3 separate regions of the Homo sapiens genome follow, and all the other regions are linked to region 1. The links are contacts of gene promoters, found by promoter capture Hi-C in human tissues and cell types (Jung and others, 2019). All regions are on one chromosome and are shown on one strand. Each heading gives the region's core, a stretch centred on a gene start or on the middle of the fragment in contact. The rest is flanking DNA. Distances are from core to core; before and after follow the strand shown.

Region 1 (3,590 bases), core at 985-3,484:
ACATTTTTAAACAACCAGATCTCATGAGAACTCACTATCATGAGAACAGCAAGGGGGAAATTCACCCCCATGATTCAATCACCTCCCACCAGGCCCTTCCTCCAATGCTTGGGATTACAATTCGACATGAGATTTGGGTGGGGACACAGAGCCAAACCATATCACTATTCAAAGGAAAAGACGTTATTATATGAAGAAGACACATGCACACGTATTTTTATTGCATCTCAGTTCACAATTGTAAAGATGTGGAACCAACGTAAGTGCCCATCAACCAGTGGGTGGATAAAGAAAATGTGGTATACATACAGCATGGAAGAGTACTCAGCCATAAAAAGGAATAAAATAAAGTCTTTTGTAGCAACTTGAAGGGAGCTGAAGGCCATTATTCTAAGTGAAGTAACTCAGGAATGGAAAACCAAATACCATATTTTCCCACATATAAGTGGGAGCTAAGCTATGAATATGCATAAGCATACAGAGTGTTAAAACGGATTTTGGAGATCCCAAAAAGGGAGGGTAGGAGAAGGGTGTGGGATTAAAAACTACATATTGGGTACAACATACACTACTTGGGTGATGAGTGCACTAAAATCTCAAAATTCACCGCTGTATAATTCATCCATATAACCAAAACCCACTTGTACCCCCAAAAGCCATTGAAATTTTTTTTAAAATGTTTAAAAAAAGGAAGAAAGACACAAGGTAGGCATTCTTTAAATGTGGAAAGAATGGCTAAGGGAAGCAAGAATAATGTGAGAATAAGCACAGAGTAGCAGTGAATGTGGTATACATAGGGAAAAGTGAAGGAAAAGGGTGTCCAGAGACGCGGGCTCTCTGTACTGATTGTGCGGAAACCGGAGTTAACTCACAATTTTCAGTGGCACTAGCACTGTCAAGTGCTTTGTTTGTTGTTTGTTTTTTCACCCAAGAAAGGAAGATGTTCAGACTACAGATTGTGGTCAAGAAATTATATATTTTAGGTGAACAAACAGCGAGGTTTGGACATGAAGGAAGGCACATACACTGCACAGAGAAACAGCTCTTCCCAACTCTAAAATTTAGACGTTTATTTGGGAAATTTTGTTGGGCAGTCTAAATGCAGGAAGATTAAAAAGGACTTGGAAAATCAACAGGGTATCCTGCCTTCATGATGCTGTGAGGCATTGTGCCCCAGAGTGAAAACTGCATTTTTGTGAGTTGGTGTGGCAGGCTTGGAATACCACCTCTTTCAGCAGCTCACTCAGGTCTGGCGAGGGCTATTTGTACCTCAACGAGGGCTTCTCTCCAAGAAAGCCCTGAATCCTTTTCCTCCTTTTTCCTGCAGATTCACTATAGGACACTTTTTGAAGCAAGAGCATGCATTTTCCCCCTGGCGCTCTGCAGCGGTTCTCAGAGCCCAGTGTCACTCACATAGGTGGGACTGCTCTCAGTTCAGAGAGCGCTGGGACACTTAAGATGAAAAGTCCCTGGAAGTTAGCAAACAGCCATCTGTCACTCTGGCATCGATTTACTAAAAGTGACTTCTAGGGTATTCTAAACCACTTTTAAAAAACAAATGAGTCACTTCGACTTCCTCACCCCGCAAGAGATAGGAAGGCAGCAGTGGAGTGCTCGCTCAGGAGCTGTATTTGTTTAGCGATTAGCCTAGAGCTTTGATTTTAGGGCAAAAGCGAGCCAGACAGTGCGGCAGACGTAAGGATCAAAAAGGCCACCTATCATTCGCCGGGGACGCCTGCCTCCTTACCCTGATAACGTAACTATTTCTCTGCATAGGATTTTAGTTTTTGTGTTTTTGTTTTGTTTTATTCTGTTTAATCACTTCAAGTATCTCATCCATTATTTGAAGCGGGCTCGGAGGAAACGTGCCGCATCCTCCAGTCCTTGTGCGTCTGTTTAGGTCTCTCCGAAGCAGGTCCCTCTCGACTCTTAGATCTGGGTCTCCAGCACGCATGAAGGGGTAAGGGTGGGGGGGTCCCCTATTCCGGCGCGCGGCGTTGAGCACTGAATCTTCCAGGCGGAGGCTCAGTGGGAGCGCCGAGAACTCGCCAGTACCGCGCGCTGCCTGCTGCCTGCTGCCTCCCAGCCCAGGACTTGGGAAAGGAGGGAGGGGACAAGTGGAGGGAAAGTGGGGCCGGGCGGGGGGTGCCTGGGAAGCCAGGCTGCGCTGACGTCACTGGGCGCGCAATTCGGGCTGGAGCGCTTTAAAAAACGAGCGTGCAAGCAGAGATGCTGCTCCACACCGCTCAGGCCGCGAGCAGCAGCAAGGCGCACCGCCACTGTCGCCGCTGCAGCCAGGGCTGCTCCGAAGGCCGGCGTGGCGGCAACCGGCACCTCTGTCCCCGCCGCGCTTCTCCTCGCCGCCCACGCCGTGGGGTCAGGAACGCGGCGTCTGGCGCTGCAGACGCCCGCTGAGTTGCAGAAGCCCACGGAGCGGCGCCCGGCGCGCCACGGCCCGTAGCAGTCCGGTGCTGCTCTCCGCCCGCGTCCGGCTCGTGGCCCCCTACTTCGGGCACCATGGACACCTCCCGGCTCGGTGTGCTCCTGTCCTTGCCTGTGCTGCTGCAGCTGGCGACCGGGGGCAGCTCTCCCAGGTCTGGTGTGTTGCTGAGGGGCTGCCCCACACACTGTCATTGCGAGCCCGACGGCAGGATGTTGCTCAGGGTGGACTGCTCCGACCTGGGGCTCTCGGAGCTGCCTTCCAACCTCAGCGTCTTCACCTCCTACCTGTAAGTACTTCCCCACGTCACTCCGGGAGAGAGACTAAGAGGGGAAGGAAGGTTCGTCCAAGGCGAGGCTGGAGGCTCCTCGGCGCCCGCCTGCTCGTGGGGGAGGGGGGCGAGTTTGTCAAGGGCATCCTGGCCAGGCCTGTTAGGGCCCCCAGAGAAATGCACGTGTCTCGGGGAGTAGCGTGCCGGCACTTTCTGGACCCGCAGAGAAATGGCTTCGAGTGCAACCCGGGAAAGCGCTGCTGCGCCGCAGCTTCCCAGTCCAGCGCTAGAAACATCGCAGGGCGAATTCCTGCAAATGCAGGCATTTGCGTGCGGAGTGGACATTTGTGACCCAGAGCCTGGTACCCAAAGGCAGGCTGCCATCTGGTCCCCGCCCCAACCGCCTCTCTGCGTCTAGTCGCATTCCACGAAAAGATGGTCTGTAGAAAGTTTCCCCAAAGGAGAAACAACTTGCCCAGCTCCAAAGGGTTTTTAGTCTGCATCCCTTGCACTGTGACGTGATGTAACCTTTTTGGGGTTTTTTCCTCTTTTCCTCCCTTCCTTCCTCCCTTCTTCCTTCCTTCCCTCCCTCCTTTCTTTTTATTTTCTTTCTTTTTTAACGGCGTGATTAAAATGTGGCAACCACAAACCCCGATTAGAGCTGCCAGAACGTTATCTTTACCTTTGGCTGCCCGCGCCGCCCTTTGAAGTGCCCGCGGCCGCTGTGTAATCTTTAACCATCTCTTCCCCCGGGGAGGAAAGGGGAAGTGGGCTGAAGGCTGTTGGGCTGGTAAACAGCGGCACCGACACCCAAAGGGAGACCTGAAGCTCTCTATCATCCCTGGGGGATTCTCCCACCCCTTCTCTCCCCACTGCAAC
Region 2 (3,186 bases), core at 234-2,733, 190 kb after region 1:
AACTAAGAAAACTTTAGTTTTTCTTTCTCAAGTTAAAATTTCCATGCTTACTATTTATGAGCTATTTATCTAATTAAATTAATGCCAAAATTAATTCGAGAAAAGACCTAGAATATCAAGGGATAGAAACAAGTTGCTTTTATACCAAGAACATAAAATAGTTTAAACAGAAAAAAAACCTTGTATTCTAAAAGTAGTTTCTCACCACATAATAAAATACTATATAATACCGGTATTTCTTACACACATTACCAGCCAAGACAAGAAAATCTGGAAAAAGTCTATATTACCTGGAAGGTGCTTTACAATTTTAAGATAAAAACATGCAACCCTTTAACATTCTCACAACTTTTAAAAGTCTAAATGGGGGACCCACAAAGTTAATCATATGAAAATGTCTAAATAAATTTTATGAAGGCTGGCCAATGCACTTCTTAGACTGAATAACAGTAAAATTAAAAATCAAAAATTAAAAAAAACCTCTAAGATTCCAATTATTTTTCCTAAAATTCCTAACAAACAGAAATCCAAAATTCTCCACACTTCTACCAATAGCCAGAAACTGGAATTTGATACGAACTGATAAATCCAAGAGTGTGGTTTGAGCCCAACGGCAGGACACTTAATTTTTATGTTCCTTAAAAGGGTAAGTCTGGTTATCAATAGCAATGATTCAATTGCTTTTTCATTATCATCAAATATTCAAGATAAAATATTAAAAACCAAACAGAAATCCTGAAATTCAAGCTTATTGAATCTTTCTTTTATACCTGTAGGACTTAAAAACTAGAAGAGGACTATGGTAGGGTCTAAAAGGACATGGCTTCACTTCCATTGTTTTACTTTGTGCTGTGACAAAATCCACATCTACAGAAATCTCCTGCAAAAGAAAATAATAATTCTGTAAGGCAAATAAGGCTGGGTGAATTCCAGATTTTAAAGAAAATATGAAATGTTCAGTTACCTGACCATGCAAAACCTTCTCTGTAATGCCTGTGGTGGTTTTTAAAATCAGCTGTTTTAGGCTGTCAGCTTTTGAATACAATTTTTGCAATTCACCAATTTTTAACCCTAGAAAAAGTTCTGGTTTTTCTACAGTATTTTTATTAAGTTTGTTTATGCATTCTTTGTTAGCAGTATCAGTGTGCTTAAGGTTAGGTTTAGTAAAATAATTGGATTCTAAAAAAGATCTTCTTCGCTCTCTGCTTGAACCAGACAAAATTTCATCATCAACATCATTTTCTTCAGTGTCCAGGGTTAATTTATCTTGTGTCAGATCATGAAGTGAGGGTTGAGGTAAAGAAAATTCGGGTTCCTCTTCCACAACTGGAGAGATATTTTGTTGTTCCTTTGCTTTAAGGGCACGGGCTTCTTTTAATTTTTGAATTTTCAGGGCATATTCATATTCTAGCTTTTGTAACCGTCTTTTCTCCATAGCAATTAGTTCTGCTGAATGCTTTCTTGGACTTGATACTGGAGAACTGTCCAGTCTCATCATTTTGTTTGGCTAAGGGAGAAAAATGATACACGTATTTTACATCACTGTGATTTTATAAACAATTTTTGGTAAGATAATTGTGCTATCCCCACCATACAATGCCAACATTATAAAACTAAATCAATATGGAGAATAAAACAGAGTTTAACATAAGTAGCCAAAAGTTTTGCTAGTTAATCTATGACTTATGACAAAAACAAAGTCAAGACAAAATAATAAAGTAGACATCCAAAAATGTGGATGTCATTTAAAAACAAAGCTTTAATCTTAATCTCTTGGAATTTACAGCAAAGAGTTACTTTATATATACATCTTACCCTTAAAACTATCATAAAAACTTTCTGCTTTCCAAAAGTAAAATATTTCTATAAAACCCTCACCCCAAAGCGATCTTGTTCCAGTTTACGTTTTCCTATTTCTTTACTGGCCACTGCCTTTGCCCGAGCAAGCTCTTCTCCATATTTTAGAGTCAAAGCTTTCTTAATTGTAACACGCTGTTGAACTCTGTGAATCTGAAAAATATAGAATAATCCTGAAAATGTAAATGAAAACCTTAAAACAGGAAATTTCTTCTTCTCAAACACCGTGGCTTTTGAGCATTCAACTGAAAATAAAAATATTCCAATATTATTTCTCAACAAGAAACTATAGGTTATGCATATTTTGCTGGCTTTAGTATACAGTGGTTTGTCTTACAGAAAATTTGGCCTATAAAAATGTGTAGTAAACAGGAGACTACAGTATTTTAAAATAATTACTTGTTCCTGAAGCTTCTTCAAAAACATTCTGTTAACATTAAGAATTTTTTCAGTTGCTTGAAGCTGTTCTGTAAGTTTTGTAATCTTTGCTTCAGCATTTCTAACAGATTCTTTCTTCTTAGCTTCTTGTTGCACTAAATTCTTTAAAACAGATTCATCTTTCATCAAGAGAATCCTAAATGAGAAATAACAAAATTCTTGTTAATGTTTCCCTACAAGAGCAGACTGTCAGAATAAAAAAATTTTCAAAGTAATAACACAATTTTTAAAAATGCATCTACGAGACACAGATAAAAATGTAAAGGGATGAATATTTTTATATTCATCACACAGGTATTTAAATTAACATTGCTACACTGATAATAGTAACTATGAGACTGATCTTTTAAAAAAAAAAATTTAAGCCTGAGGTAACGTGAATTACTGTTGAAAACTTGTAGTAAATATTCAACGTTGGGCCAGGCACAGTGGGAATGCATTTCCCTAGTTCAAGCGATTCTCCCGCCTCAGCCTCCCAAGTAGCTGGGATTACAAGGCATGCACCACCATGCCCAGCTAATTTTTTTGTATTTTTAGTAGAGACAGGGTTTCACCGTGTTGGCCAGGCTAGTCTCAAACTCCTGATCTCAAGTGATCCACCCACCTCGGCCTCTCAAATTGCTATGATTATAGGCGTGAGCCACCGCGCCTGGCCGGTATTTTTATTTAAACATTAATTTCATTACTTTATGTAAATGTAGTGTCATTCAACAAAATGACAGACTTCTACATTCTACAAAGTTTAAGTGAGAAAATGTATAATCTTATAGTACGCTTATTAATAACATACACCACAAAAATGTATTTCTCTACCACAGGAACAATTAGATATGTGAAGATAACAAGGCTCACCTATGTTTTTTCAGTTTTGATTCTGCATCTGTAACCTGC
Region 3 (3,685 bases), core at 1,044-3,543, 210 kb after region 1:
TCACCAGCACACAGGTAGTAGTTAAAACCATAATAATGAGAATATCCCTAGAAAATGGGACACTGAGGACATGACGAATTAAGAAATTACACAGGAAAAGTAATTATTTAAAACAAACAAAAGACAGAAAACAAAAATCAGAAAGTTATTTTTAAAATCCATTGCAGAAATCCCAAAATTTCAAGGGAAGAAACATATCACTGAATATAGTAGAGATGTCTACCCCCAATAGAATATTCTCAGCAATGCAGCCAGAGTGATGCCTTAAAAATATAAAACAGATTATGTCAGTCCTTTGCTCAAAACCCTGTAAGAGCTCCCCATTTCATTAGGAATAAAAAAACAAAGTTCTTACAAGGCTCTGTCTATAAGATCTGCCCCCTCCTGCCATCTCTAATCCCTTCTCTCCCATTATTCATTCCCCTCACTCTCCTGTATTAGCACAGGACTCCTTGTTATTCCCCAAACATGTCAGGCATCTTTCTGTATTATGGTCATTTCTCTAGTTCAGCGATGCCCAAACTTCAGCATGTAGCAGAATCAACAGAAGGGCTGGTTAAATACAGATTGCTAGGCCCCATTTGCAGAGCTCCCAGTTCAATAGATCTAAGGTAGAGACTGAGAATTTGTGTTCTGTCAAGTTCCCAGATAACGCAGTCCCCAGGAACCACACTTTGAAAATCACTGCTCTAGTTATTCCTTTTGCATAGGAGCCTCTTCCACCAGATATCCATTTGGCTATTCCTTTACTGTCTTCAAAGTCTTTCTTTAAATCTCACCTTCAAATAGACACCATGCTGACCACCCTATTAGTGCTGCAACCTGTATCCTCAATAACCCTTTCCTACCTACCCTGCTATACTTTTTCTCTTTCATAACAGTTAATTTACACATCATGTTTACTGTTTTGCCTTCTAAAATGTAAGCCCATGAAAACATAAGTGACTATTTTGTTCACCAATTTATTTCCAAGAGCCTGGAATAAAGTGCTCAACTAATTTTTGAATAAATGGAAGAATGAAATAAAAAACATCCACTAAAATTTGCAATTAGGTCACAGAAAACTACCATGAGTAGTTTCAGTATTGTGATGGGGGTAGAAAAGCAAACTGTATTGGGCTAATAAGGCAATGAGAAGTAAAGTCAAAAGCTGGTACCGACTAGACCTCTCAGAAGTCTTATTGAAAAGAGGAAGAATACTTGACATAATTTAAGAGAGAATGTAGGATGAGGTGGAAGAGGATTTCCATTTTTGGATGGAAAAGTCAAATATATTAAGAACACCCTAAGGAGACAATGGTTCAAGATAAAGCAGAATAAATAAAGCAAGGTCCCAGAGAAGGCAGAAGTTAGAGCCAGGAGAACAAGTTAAAACAAAATGGCCATGAACAAGACAGTCGTTACCCTCAGGGTGAAAGAACTGAAGTGAAAACTGATATGGATTACAAACAAGTTTATGGTCAGAAAGTGAAAAGCTGGAATTGAGTGTGATCACCTCCAATAAGAAGCAAGCTTGTATACGGACAATAATAAAGGTTGAGTAAAAGGCCTGCAAAAATTATGAAGGTATAGAAGAGTTGTCAAGAGATATGGAAAAAAGGCTCACCAATAACATAAGTTTGACAGTAGAGTCTTGCTGAGGATTGGTGGGGAAATATACATGTAGAAACATTTATATATATAATTTACTGATTCAGATGACATTTTAGTTCCTTTGATTTTCCTCCAATCACTCTTCCATACTGATGCCAGTTATTTTTCCAAAACACACATCTGATCACATCATTTTCTTGCTTAAAAATATTTAATAGCCCACCCAACGTTTAAAAGACAAAATTCAAATTCTTTAGCAAAATATTAAAGGCCTTCCCAATCCAACACTAACCTGTCCTTTTATAATTTTATGTCCAACCACTCACCAAAAAAATACCGTTATCTCTCACACTGCACACATATTTGATTAATCTCAATGCCCTTAAAAAGCCCTCTGTGCCTGTCTACTCATTTGATTCCTTCTGACTTCCCCAGTGGAAAAGATTCATCTTTCCAGATGTATATCAAACATTTACATCTCTATGAAACCTTTCTAAATCCAGGTGAGGATATTTAATCCTTCCCGTGTTACTCCAGGCTTTCACACATAACTCATATTATACTCCATGATAGAGATTTGTGTCTTTTCTATCCCTCTGTGTTATACTTCTCAAAACTGCTTGTGTAGAATCATAGTACTAAATTGAAGAGGGGAAAGAAAGGCATCTCCCTGAGAATGTGCAACCCAAAATAATCATCACTTAGGTCTGCAACCAAATTCACACCATATGGACAGCCAGTGAGGGTTGAACTGATTCCAAGGCTGAAGTCTTTAGCAAATTCTCTCTGGGGAATGCATCTTTGTCCCAGGTCTCAAAAACTTCCCACCACTAAAATTCAAAAAAAAACAACGACCATCTCATATTACAACAAAACAAAATCACTAAATGTTCAAGAAAAGAAAGTACCAAAAATGAGTAATAACAAAACAAACATCAGAAATCAAACCCCCAAAGACCTGAGATACTGAAAATTAGCAGGGATAGGAGATAAAACAAAACAGACCTATGGTTAATTTGTTTAAAGAAACAAAGATAAAGCTGAAAATATAAGCAGGGAGAAGAAAAGTGGAAAGAATGATCAAAGTGATTTGAAAACAAAACAAAAATGAAATAGTAAAACAAAAACTGTAATTGAAATGTAAAACTCAGTAAGTGGGCTTAAGGCAAATCGAATACAGCAGAAGAGAGAATCAGTAAAACGAAAGATGTATCAGAGGAAATTTTCCAGAATTTGTCAATTACAAAGTGACAGAAACTTAGAGAAATGAAGAGACATGAAAGATAAAGTATGATGACTTAACATAACATACATCTATACAGAGTTCCAAAAAAGAGAGAGAATGGGATAATATTCTAAGAGATAATGATCATTTTTTCAGAACCACTGCAAGATCCAATCCAGATTCAAGAAACAACAAATTCCAAGCTGGATACATAAAAAGAAATCTACAATCAGCACATCACACAGTTCAACTACAGAATATCAAAGACAAAAAGGATCTTTAAAACAACCAAAGAAAAAAGATTATCTTCAAATTGGAAACCATTAAGACTGATAGATGAGTTTTGAAAATCAACAATGGAAGCCAGAAAATATTGTCAGTAAGAATATAATTAGGGGCTGGGTGTGGTGGCTCATGCCTGTAATCCCAGCACTTTGGGAGGCCAAGGCAGGCGGATCACTTCAGGCCAGGAGTTTGAGACCAGACTGGCCAACATGGCGAAACCCCAGCTCCACTAAATACAAAAATTAGCCGGGCGCAATGGCATGTACCATAGTCCCAGCTACTCAGGAAGCTGAGGCATGAGAATCACTTGAACCCAGGAGGCGGAGGTTGCAATGAGCCAAGATAGTGCCACTGCACTCCAGCCTGGATGACAGGGAAAGACTTTGTCTCAAAAACAAACAAACAAAAAGCATATAATTAAACAACCTAGAATTCTAAACCCAGGGAAAATATCTTTTAAAAAGAGTAAACGGAAATCGTTTTCCACCCAGCAAAAACACATTTTTAAAAAAAAAGTCTAAAGAATGTATTTAAGCACAGAGCATGGTGGCTCACACCTGTAATCCCAGCATTTTAGGAGGC

Evidence for each region. Contacts are between HindIII fragments. The study calls those that stand out against the background at their distance.
Region 2: a contact is called between a fragment that was not itself captured here and the fragment with the promoter of LGR5 in region 1, in 4 of the 25 tissues and cell types used here (aorta, hippocampus, small bowel and 1 more).
Region 3: a fragment that was not itself captured here is called in contact with the fragment with the promoter of LGR5 in region 1 in 1 of the 25 tissues and cell types used here (mesendoderm cells).

What each region holds. Positions count from the first base shown.
Region 1 is chr12:71,437,564-71,441,153 of GRCh38, forward strand. LGR5 (leucine rich repeat containing G protein-coupled receptor 5) reads left to right here and starts at 2,235. Exons shown (of 18, transcript NM_003667.4): 1 at 2,235-2,729. The coding sequence starts at 2,518. All of the region lies in intron 2 of LOC124902962 (a long non-coding RNA gene), which reads right to left. The HindIII fragment of the contact is 8,401 bases long and covers 1-3,590 here.
Region 2 is chr12:71,631,008-71,634,193 of GRCh38, forward strand. ZFC3H1 (zinc finger C3H1-type containing) reads right to left here. Exons shown (of 35, transcript NM_144982.5): 12 at 3,148-3,186; 13 at 2,257-2,431; 14 at 1,879-2,010; 15 at 965-1,507; 16 at 771-880. Among named protein-coding and RNA genes, the nearest start is that of ZFC3H1, 31 kb to the right of the region's middle. The HindIII fragment of the contact is 3,116 bases long and covers 1-3,041 here.
Region 3 is chr12:71,650,520-71,654,204 of GRCh38, forward strand. The region is part of intron 2 of ZFC3H1 (zinc finger C3H1-type containing); the gene reads right to left. Among named protein-coding and RNA genes, the nearest start is that of ZFC3H1, 11 kb to the right of the region's middle. The HindIII fragment of the contact is 6,167 bases long and covers 1-3,685 here.